Regions from separate parts of the Homo sapiens genome. Here regions 1 and 2 are each linked to region 3. Evidence: promoter capture Hi-C in 16 types of primary human blood cells and fetal thymus (Javierre and others, 2016). All regions are on one chromosome and are shown on one strand. The core of a region is centred on a gene start or on the middle of the fragment in contact, and the rest is flanking DNA. Distances in the headings are between cores, read along the strand shown. Region 1 overlaps LY75-CD302 (LY75-CD302 readthrough). Region 2 overlaps PLA2R1 (phospholipase A2 receptor 1). Region 3 holds the start of WDSUB1 (WD repeat, sterile alpha motif and U-box domain containing 1).

What was found. Contacts are between HindIII fragments. The CHiCAGO score rates a contact against its expected background, and 5 or more counts as called.
Region 1: a contact is called between a fragment that was not itself captured here and the fragment with the promoter of WDSUB1 in region 3, in 1 of 17 cell types (neutrophils). The highest score is 6.8, in neutrophils.
Region 2: a fragment that was not itself captured here is called in contact with the fragment with the promoter of WDSUB1 in region 3 in 1 of 17 cell types (total B cells); the score reaches 5.0 in total B cells.

The regions. Positions count from the first base shown.
Region 1 is chr2:159,896,357-159,900,342 of GRCh38, forward strand. LY75-CD302 (LY75-CD302 readthrough) reads right to left here. Exons shown (of 38, transcript NM_001198760.1): 2 at 2,332-2,703. LY75 (lymphocyte antigen 75) reads right to left here. Exons shown (of 35, transcript NM_002349.4): 2 at 2,332-2,703. Among named protein-coding and RNA genes, the nearest start is that of LY75, 6.4 kb to the right of the region's middle. RefSeq lists an enhancer at 203-442. The HindIII fragment of the contact is 3,516 bases long and covers 558-3,986 here.
Region 2 is chr2:159,935,453-159,938,940 of GRCh38, forward strand. PLA2R1 (phospholipase A2 receptor 1) reads right to left here. Exons shown (of 30, transcript NM_007366.5): 30 at 1-3,488. Among named protein-coding and RNA genes, the nearest start is that of LY75-CD302, 32 kb to the left of the region's middle. The HindIII fragment of the contact is 160 bases long and covers 1,907-2,066 here.
Region 3 is chr2:159,285,073-159,288,860 of GRCh38, forward strand. It overlaps WDSUB1 (WD repeat, sterile alpha motif and U-box domain containing 1), which reads right to left and starts at 1,631. Exons shown (of 11, transcript NM_001128212.3): 1 at 1,511-1,631. RefSeq lists silencers at 1,465-1,904, 1,591-1,760. The HindIII fragment of the contact is 12,257 bases long and covers 1-3,788 here.

The sequences.
Region 1 (3,986 bases), core at 1,066-3,565, 610 kb after region 3:
GAGGCAACCCAAGGCACAGTGATAAATTAATGTTCTTGTATCACAAGTGAAAACTTGGTTTATACTGCTAAAGCCAAGGGGGAAAGAAAGAAGCTATGTTTGGGGAATGGAATACTGGTTTTAAGCCCTAGCTTTGCTGTAACAAACCAGGTAACCTTGGATTTCACTTTGTTGGGACTTGGGTATCTTGTATGTTTTGTTTATATACTGCTAGATAAGAAGGTGGGGACAACAATCAGTATCGAGAGTCTGAGAGCGGAGTCCTAGAGAAAGTCCCTAACTTAAGACAGCAGTCCCTAACCTAAGAACAAGAAGGGATATACATAAATTGAAAAGGGTAGAATTGCCAGGACTTCATATTTGATTATATTGGAGTGGTGGAAGAGGCGAGCCTGAAACCTCTCAGGTGACTTGCTGATTTCTGACATGTAGAACTTAGATGGTACCAGTCACCCAGACAGAAACAGAGAAGAGGTGGCAAGTTTGGCCCTGGTTTCTGTGCAAATTAAAACTTGAGGTATGCCTTGACTAGTCACAACTATATATGCTTTAAAAAAAGCTTTAGTGTTTCAAATATTATATTTGAAAAGGTCAAGAAACACTTCATGCCTTTGGGTTATGCTGGTGGCATTGCTTAGCTCTCTCTGGGTGGTCCCCTGGGTAGATCCTTAACCTTTTTTGTGCTACTGATCTCTTTGGCAGCTGGGTGAAATCCACAGTCCCTGTCTCAGAAGAACATTAGAAATGCATACATAAAATACATAGGATAAAAAGGAAAACCAGTTATATTGAAATGAAGACACTGGGGACTGAGGGAGTTTAAGATTACAACTATGCCCCTCAAAAGAATTAGATCAGGAGACTAAAAGAACCCTGCCAAGAAAATTATCCTTTCTGATCCCTGGACAAATACAATGAAACAAGTTAAATCCAATTAAAAGGCATTTTGTTTGGCTCTGTGTTTCCTCTTAGTTGGCAAGTTGGAGAAGGGCTTTTGTGGCACAGAATTTAAATTTGCCATTAAGTCATATCCAAAAAGCAACTGCTTTACTTTTAGGAGGAAACTGGCTCGCAGAAACAGACTGTCAACTATTCAAAGGCCAGGGAATGATGAAAAGGAAACCCTATCTCTAATTCTCTAATATTTCTCCACAACAGAACTTGACATTCTCAGAATAATTCTTGCATCCTCACTAGGAAATAGAAAGCTAGAAAGAAAAACTTGTGCAGATGGATAATGGAAAGTATGGGAGCAAGCTGCTATAGTGACTTTGAGGCCAAATTTAGCTTAAATGATCTTTAAGAGAAGAAGAAAGCCACTGTAAAGCTAGGGAAATTTGTAAAGAAAGGCAAGGGGAAATAATAGGACTTAGAGGACATAATTATATGCATATCGACATTTGGTGTAATTTAGAGCAACATAATGAAAAATATTTGCTTGGGAGATAGCTAATTACATTTAATGGTTAAAAAAATAAATCTACTCATTCTTTAACTTAGAAATTAGTTGCAATCCAGTCCCTAGACTCAGGGCTAAGTCCATGGTCCGCTCCCCGCAAGGCAATATTAATATACTTATTTTCGGAAGCAACTGAAAAACTCCACTCTTAAAATGCTGAATCATAAATATAAACATCAAAATTTGGTTGCCATGCAAAAATGAAAATAAATAAGAAAATCCACTCAAAATTTTCCCATTTTATTCAAAATCCGTAGGCAAGAAAAAATATATTTTTCCTCCTTCTCCTTCTTTTCTTTTTTAAGGATGGGTGTCTCACTATGTTGCCCAGGCTGAAGTGCAGTGGCTATTCACAGGCGTGATCATTACACACTACAGCCTTGAACTCCTGTGTGCTCAAGTGATCCTGCTGCCTCAGTCTCTCGAGAAGCTGGGACCGCAACCATGCACCACTACGCCTGACCTTTCTTCTTCTTTTAAAACTTAGAATAAGATCAACATTATTAGATCATTTGACTTTTAGCCTGTACAAATCTAATGATTCCTTTCCTCTAGGGTTTCCTTTCCTCTAGGGTTTAGAAGACCATCATAAGAAGTACATATCTATCTGATGAAATCCCAGGTTTATCACAACATGGCTGTGTGACCTCAGACAAGGCACTTTATCTCTCTTAGCCTTACCTGCAAAGTAGAGGCAAATACCATGGACTTGTAAGAATGTCGCTCAAAGTAACTGCACAGTGCCTGGAAGTGAAGAGCTTACTCACTGCCCTTACTAATGTACGACTCTATTTTTACTAAATTGTGCATGTTTAATGCCACATGTGACAAGCACAACAGCAAATCGGTCAAAGTCCCTCTCTAATACTCACCATGATAAGGCTGGTCACAAAGGCTTTCCTCTGAGCCTCCTTTCTTCCAGACATCAGATGCATTTGAGATTGCTGTGCCATGTCCATCCTTCAGAGCCAGCCGGTACCGGGCAGCTCCGTACAGAGAGTGGTGCTCACATTTCCACCACAGCATGGCACTGGAGTCACAGCTGAACATTCTCAGCTCATTTACCGATTTGGTAATATCGAGGCCAAGGCACTTTTGGGAGTGCAAATGAAAGAGCCGATGCTGGGACACCCACTTCCATAACTTGTCCTCAGTTTCATCACAGTCGTCTGCTACTATCCAGCCATACACTGGCTTGATGCACTTGCCCGTATTTCCATGGACGATGGTGAAGGGGTCATTAGCTGAGTCAAATGGACAGACAGATTGTAGATTATGTGGTTGAAGCGCCTTGCTCCCTGCCTGCTGAGGAGAGTCTGAGCACTACTGGACTGTTCCCATCCTCAGTCTGTTCCCACTCTTTTTAAGCTGCAGGGGACTACAAAAGGTGGGACAGTGGTGAGCAGAGAGGCAGTGCAGTGTGTAGGGTCAGAACACGGGCTCTGGAGCCAGTCCGCCTGGGTCCATATTTTGCTCCTGCTACTTGTTAGCCATAGGATCAGGGCAAATCATTTAACCTCTGTGCTCCAGTTTTCATATGATGGTTGTGAGCATGAAAGGAGCTAATCCATGTAAAGCGTGTAGAGTAGCATGTATATTTGTTGTTGCTATTTCATGAAAGATTTTTCCCTTCTCATTTAATAAGACAAAAGAAGCTCTTTAGTTTTCATCTCAATGAAAAGTCTAGTTGGGACCATAATTCTGCCTTGCTTACATGTTAGCTACTACGGCAGGGTAAATTATTACATGAAAAGTCGATGCTTAACACAGCATGTGCACTATATATATGTTCCTTTCTTCAGATCCAAGTACATAGTGAGGCCTCTGTGCTCCTCTGCCTTAGGGCAAGTTAGTGGGGCCACTAAAAAGGAAAACTTAAGGACAATTTTCTTAAAGACCACTTCCCCCTAGATATTTTTTGGAGACCTAAATTCATTGAGGTATCTCAGAGGAAATGGGGAAATTTCTGAGGGAGCAGCAGAACAGTGGGGTACAGAAACAAGAAGAAACAGAGGTCTGGGTTCTGAGGGTAGAACCTGTGGCCAGCTCCACTGTGGCAGTTTCATTGTCCTCAGTTTCATCACAGTCGTCTGCAACTATCCAGCCATACACTGGCTTGTGGCACCCTCAGGAAGGCGACAGGGCCTGGGGAAAGCCTGGGGGGATTGACAGTGTGGATCACCTAAGAAGGCTGAACCCCAAACTCCAGGAACTACCAAAGTGATGGCTGATGAGTCTTGAGCCACCAGATACAAGATCCTGTGGGTTTGGACAATGGAAAACCCAGAGGTAACCAGCGGGATCCAATGACTAAAGAAGAATCCTCCCTGAATGTTCCCCTGGCACTTTGCATGAGCTGGCAAAGACCCCAGTAAGGACAATTATTGAAGTTCTGGCAACCTGGTGGAATGGGAGCTCAGCATCAAATTTAATTTGGATTTCTGAAAATAAAGTAATGCATTGTTTCTTGCACACCTGAGTTTGTGGAATAAGATTCACATCTGTTACAACAAACTATAATCAGATA
Region 2 (3,488 bases), core at 737-3,236, 650 kb after region 3:
CATTCACTCATTCAATTGTTTACATCAGTATGGACACACAGATATTTATTGTGTGGGTTATAATCCAATATTATAATTTTTTATTGTTTGCTCAAATTGTTCCAGCATTTCCACTGGAGAGCTCCTTCAGGTTGGTTCCTGTAGCCTTCAGACATGTGCCATCTTTTTGTGAGCACCTCCTTATTTTCTGCCATCACAAGATATTCCAGTTTCATCTTGTATTTTCCTGCCTTAGACCTGCAATCAACCACTTTCTCAAGAAGCCTAAGTTCCTTTGACTGGAGATACTACAACAATTTGAATTCTATCATAATCTATTTAAAAATAGAAATAACCTCTTCAGCAGTCAGAGATATTACTTTCTTTCAATCTTGTATTTCCATTCCAACTCCCCCACAGAATTTTATCCTAATGAGATATACTTTAATTTGTGAAATATTTTATTCATTACCTTGTCATATTTTCCTGCAGTAAAAATATGTATATAAATTAATTTTTTTTTTTTTTTTTTTTTTTTGAGAGAGAGTCTCGCTCTGTCGCCCAGGCTGGAGTGCAGTGGCGCCATCTCGGCTCACTGTAAGCTCCGACTTCCAGGTTCATGCCATTCTCCTGCCTCAGCCTCCCGAGTAGCTGGGAATACAGGCACCCGCCGCAACACACAGCTAATTTTTTTGTATTTTTAGTAGAGACGGGGTTTCACCTTGTTAGCCAGGATGGTCTCGATCTCCTCACCTCGTGATCCACCCGCCTCGGCCTCCCAAAGTTGCTGGGATTACAGGCGTGAGCCACCGCGCCCAGCCTAAAATTATTTTTTAAGAAGTCCCTGTGAACATAGGCTCTAAGTATTACACATTTTCTTCTATATTGAGTTGTCATTTCAATTATTGTTAGTATACAATTGATCAGAACAAAATAAATATGTTACAAAGATTAAGATAGTATATGTCAAACTAAAATGATAGCAAATGGATCTGTTAATGAAATGGATATATCATAGATAAAAATTAATTAGTATTAAAAACTGCTAGTATAAATCAAGGTTCAGCATCAATTCTGTTCTCTCTCTTCTTTTTTTGTAGCTATACATGTTGAGAAACTCTGGTAGCAATTGCTGGTGCTGTCTGTAGTCCCTTATCCTCTCTTTCCTGAGCACACAAAGCAGAAGACTTCCTGGATTTCCTTTCAGTTAGGTTAGGTCATGTGACTAGTTCCAGCCAATGACACGCGAGTGGAAGTGCCACGTGTTTCTTCCTAAACCTGGGAACTTAACAGTTCTCTAGTGCCATAGCAGCACTGGAAGCCCCATGTTCTGGAGGTAGGACACAGCCTGGATCTGTGAGTTACTGCTTGGAGGCAAGTGTCCTGACCATAGCAGGCTTCGCATGATCAATAAATTAACTTCTGAGTTTTGTTTTTAACCACTAGTATTACAGGGTTTGTTTCCACAGCACTCTCTAACTTATCTTAACATAGAAACTTTGTTCATATAAATAAGTAGATGGGAATAAAAGGAGGTTTGTTATAACAATATCCCTCTATTACTTGAATTCCTTTCTCATAGGTGCCAAAAAATCAGTGATTCTACATTAAAAATTATTTTCTATATCAACCAACTGCTTGATTATGTTCTCCTTCAGTTTTTTTTAAAGCATAGAAGTGGAAACACCCTACTTGCAAAGTGATTTGTTACCCAGTCATTAGAATGATTCATGTCAATTTCCTACAAGTAAAATTAAAAGGCTTTACTAAGACTCTTCAAATAACTGTTCATTATGCCTGTTACTCTTTCACTTACAGGCATCTTGCTTTACCTGATATACAAATGAAGGCTGGGAAAAGTAAAATATCACTTCATTATAGTTCAGTCAATACTATTTTTCTATTAAAATGCCTTTACCCTATTACAAGCTTTAATCAGAACACAAGAGCAGCAGATTTAGTTCATTCAATTAATACAAAATGTTCATCATAAAACTTAATGGGTAAAGTCAATCCTTGTTGTCAAACCAATGAGCCAAATAAAAAAAACTTCAGAAAAGGTCTGAATTCATTTTTCAGTTCAAATAAGCTTGTTAATACTCATCCTCACAACTCACATAGAAATCTAAGATAAATCAAGCCTTGGGACTTTCTTCTGGATAACATAAGATGTTAGGTTCTTGGCAACACATGCTTCACTTTGCTTTCACCAGACTTTTTCTACAGCTTGTTCTCTGACAATAGTCAGGCAGTGGATGAGATAAATTTTCAAATGAAAGTAGCACTCCAGCTGTTCCACTGTATAATACATATTAATTCAGAATATGAACATGGGGCAAAATAACTCATTTCTAAGTCATCGCTTCAACTTTAACAGAAAAATGTCCTAACACAGAGAAAGACGTGAGGATCTACAGAATGAGTTTACAATTTCTTTATTAAAAGAAGCTTCACTGACATCAATACTTCGAATATTTTTCTTTGGAGCCATGGAGGATTTTCCCATAGTAAGATCTGAAATGAAAGCCATTTCTTTTTCTTTTTCTTTTTAAAGGTAGAGAAAGGCATTTGTGTAAAGAGAGGTGGGAAAGAAGAACCAGGGGTGCTCTCAGGTAAATCAGTTTTAAGAAAAAATATACATGAAGATTCTGGAAATTAAGTTTCTTAAATACCCATGCTCCTGTATTCCTTAGGCATGTGTCCCCAGTTTGAGGACTTTTGACTTAGAGGATTTCAACAGCCTGTGGAAGCTCCATAATGAATCAAAGATGGGTCTCAAGTCAACATCCTCTGTCAGCCACAGATTGGAGGCCCATGGAGGACTCCAGGCCTTAGGAGACAGAGGGCTGGCTATATAGGAGAAGCATGGACCCATGAATGACTGAACAGAGCAAAGTCCTCTTGCCAGCCCATGCAGGTGTGGGTGAGAAATAAACCTTTGCTGTGTTAATCCACCAAGACTGTGGGATTGTTTGCTATGGCATTTCGCCTTTCTGGACGAAAAGAGTAGCTAATGGTAGCTAATGGGATCTCACCACTGCAGGGGTGAAGTGACTGCCTTGTAGCCAAGAACTGCAGTGTTCGGATAGGGAATTCAACAGGAGACACAGCCAGTTCTCAAGAGATAAGACAGCACCAGGGACAGCCAGAATGAGGCCAAATCAAAGAGAACAGACTACAGATTAAAGCAACTGCAGACTTCACAGCAGATGCCAGCAGAATTCCCAGGAGTGAGGCCAGACAGCTATTCTCAGTGGACACCAGCTAACATACATCCACAGTAAGTTGTCACCTTCTCCCCTCAACACTACCAGGACACAGCAAGTTCTTATATATCCAACCACCATTTTGAGAAGAGTAAAGAAACTCCAAAAGACTGAACGTTTAAGTAAACATTCAGTTCAATCTTATCTTTAATAAGGAGTGGACCCTTCAAGAGAAGAAATATTTAACCCGAAAGAAGACTGTTGTAACTGTAAGAGCCCAATATATTGTTAAATGGAAAAACC
Region 3 (3,788 bases), core at 381-2,880:
AGGATGTAAATCCCAAAGGAGTAGGTACTTTGCCATCTTGCTCATTTCTGTATCCACACCATGTAAAACTGTCAGGCACCTAATGTACTTAAATAAATATAAGTTGAATATTTATTTTGTTCGAGCCCAACTGAGTTCCAGCCTTTAAATAATCCATATGTAATATGAAATTAGAAAATCTACCAAGACTAAATATATATACACACACAGAAACATAACTGACGGTGGAAAACTGGTGTCAAGTGAGGCAGAATCAGCTCTGAAAGGGGCAGGTATAACCTTGACTTGTAAAATTGATAATCCTTTGTCCTAGTCTTATTTACGGAAACACCTCTACCAAAGAAAAAAAAAGTCTGGGCGCGATGGTGCACACCTGTAGTCCCAGCATTTTGGGAGGCCGAGATGGGTGGAACACTTGAGCCCAAGAGTTTAAGACCAGTCTGGGCAACAAGGCAAGACCCCATCTCTCTAAAAATAAAAATAATTAGCTGGGTGTGGTGGCGAGCACCTGTAGTCCCAGCTACTCGAGAAGCTGAGGCGGGAGCATCACTTGAGCCCCGGAGGTGACGCCGGCGGTGAGCTGTGATTGCACCACTGCACTCTAGCCTGGGCAACAGAGCAGGACCCCATCAATCAATCAAACAAATATTAAGGCATAAGGAGCATGCCTTTCCCTATCTTCATCTTATCCTTTTAGGATAAGTTCAGCTTCTTTTCTTCGAACATAAACTCCAATAAAGCCTAAAAACCAAACACGAAAATTTCTGGTAGACTATCCCTGTACTGCTGTCTTGAAAACAATCAAGACCAGGTGGTGCTTTCTGGAGAGCTCGCAAATCCCAGCTGTGCAAGTGCGCACAGGTGATTTTCCAAACAAACTCCGGCTCCCAGCCCTCTGCCGCACTCAGCTCCCTTTGCAAGTTCCAGGGCATTCAGTGGGAAGTACCGAGGCCACCGTCAGCTGAACAGTTTGTTTTGAAAAAGCTCTCAGGCCTACCCAGGACCTGCCTTGGGGTAGGGGGGGCGGTGTGGGCGTTCCCTCGGGCCTCGGCTGTCACGCGAACAGTAAATTCCCGGGCACACCAGGTCAGTTGGCCAGCGTAAACACATGAATCCCATCTCATTCAAAGCAAACCCGAAAGGTGTCCAGCGCTCCCAAAATAAAGTCCGCCACTTACACCCCCCATGCACGAAAGACCAGGAATGTGCCCCCCTCTATGAGCGGCCGGGCCTCTGTGGACTGAGCGACCCCAGGCAAGAGGGAGGCCTGGGAGGCAGGGAGCTCACCCGCAAGGGGCTTCCTTCCACCCGACGCCGACACGCCCGCCCTAGCCCCGGGCCAAGGGTGCACGAACCACGCCTCGCCGCACTCAAGGTCCCGGTTGGGCCCTGCTGCGCGGTTAGAACCGGGAAATGGAGGGCTCAGACGCCCCGCGCGAGCAGGCCCAGCCGCGCTTCCCCACCTGCCGCCACCGCCGCTGAGCCGGCCCGTGGGCGCGGCCGCTCTCACCTGCAGGAGCGGGGGCGCGCGGGATCCGCCTTCAAGGTGCCCACGGGCGGTGCGGGTCACGTGCCGCGCAGGTGAGGCTGGCGGGGCGGGCGCCGGCGGAGACCCAGAGCAGAGGGAACAGGCCCCGCCCCCGAACGCCCGCGGGGACCCAGAGCGGAGGGAACAGGCCCCGCCCCCCGAACGCCCGCTGTGACCCAGAGCGGAGGGAGTAGGCCCCGCCCCGCGAAAGCCTGTGGAGACCCAGGGCGGAGGGAACAGGCCCCGCCCCCGGGACCGGCCCCTGAGGCGGCGCATGCGCGCTCTTCCGCCCGGACTGCGAGTTCCTCCCCAGCTTCTGGCTCCTAGGGTCAAGGCGATTTCAGGCTTGGAAAGGGACTTCCGTCGCAAATCTTTCTGTTTTTGCTAAAGCTGCGGTCGCAAGGCCTAGTGATCGCCTGAAACGTCGTTTTAAAGGGGCGTTGCATGGAATGTTCGGCCATCCCTGCTGAAAGTTTTTACCTCTTTCTCCAGTTCTCCACCCTGCACTGTGTACTCCGAGGCCGGTCTCCCAGATTGGCCTTCTCTATTTCGGCCACCCTGGGCGGTCCGTGACTTGGCGTCTTCTGCCCTCGCCTCCTCATTCGGGTTCCCCTAGGGGTCTCTCCCGGGCAGGCTGCCTGCCCCGGGCCCCAGCCCTGCCGTTGGGTGGGTATCCTGAGCTCACTGGAACCCCGGGCGCCTTTTCTTCAGCCTTTCCCAGTGCGTCCCACTGGCTCACGGTAGACTGGTTTCCACGTGTCATTGACTACAAAGTGGCCCTGCCAGTGCTTTTTGAGATAAAAATTATCCAGAAAAAAAAAAGTTCCTGAGCAAATTACCACTTGTTAACTAAATGCACAACATAGTGTGGGACTATGTTCAGATGAAAATCAAAGATACAGAGAGCTTTTATTTTTAATCCATGAGGAAACATTAAAAATATATCAGCCTGTGGAGACCGAAGTTACATTTGAAGAGTAATGACCTAAAATGCTCACATTTAAAGATGAAATTGAGACCGTGGGAAACTATTTGCAATGAAAAAGATTAAGGGGAAAGGGAAGATTAAAAATTAGGATTTTGTGAAGTTCTTGTTAATTTTTTAAAATTAGCGGAGTGCATCATGATTGAGACTTTGAACACCAAATTCCATTCCAAAGTATTGCCAAAACAGTATTTTTCTAAAAACAAGTTTTTGATTGTATAAATAATAGAGCTCTCTGTAGGAAACACAGAATATATAACAGGAAAATAAATAGTCAATAATTACACCCCTCAGAGATCACCCACTCAGAGATAACATTTTCTCTCAGTCTTTCAGAAAAACTAATTTTACAAAAAGTCCTGGAAACTGCCTTTTTAAACAAACTTGTGTCATGAGCTGTTCCCATGTCTAAAATTTCATTAGCTTTTTTTTCTACATAATGGTCTACATATAAACATACCATAAATTATTTAACATTTTCCCTGTTGCTGGATGGTTTCAACAATTTTGATCTTAGTGTAGATAATGCTGGATTAAATATCTTTGTACCTAAATCTTTTTCTTTTAGCCTCAATATATTACCACGTTATGTACATAAATCTTTTTCCATATTTATGAATATGTACTTAGGATAAAAATTGAAATGGAGGCCAGGTGCGGTGGCTCACGCCTGTAATCCCAGCACTTTGGGAGGCCAAGCTGGGTGGATCACCTGAGGTCAGGAGTTCAAGACCAGCCTGGCCAACGTGGTGAAACCCCATCTCTACTAAAAATAGAAAAAAATTAGCCAGGCATGGTGGCACGCACCTGTAATCCCAGCTACTCAGGAGGCTGAGACAGGAGAATCTCTTGAACCCAGGAGGCTGAGGTTGCAGTGGGCAGAGATCTCCCCATTCCACTTCCAGTCTGGGGGATAGAGTGAGACTTTGTCTCACAAAAGAAAAAAAAGGAAATGGAATCACTGGGCATAAAGGTGTAGACAGTTTTAATAAGTATTACCATACTGCTCTTCAGAGAGGTTGTACAGTTTACACTCTCAGCAATATGTAGTTGTGTTTGTCTCTCCACTTTCTTGTCAAACTTGAGGGATACCTTTTTTATCTACACTAATTTGTGTGTGGGTTTTTTTGTTTGTTTGTGAGATGGAGTCTTGCTCTGTCGCCCAGGCTGGAATGCAGTGGCAGGATCTTGGCTCATTGCAACCTCTACCTCCCAGGTTCAAGTGATTCTCGTGCCTCAGACTCCCAAGTAGCTGGGATTACAGGCGCCCGCCAC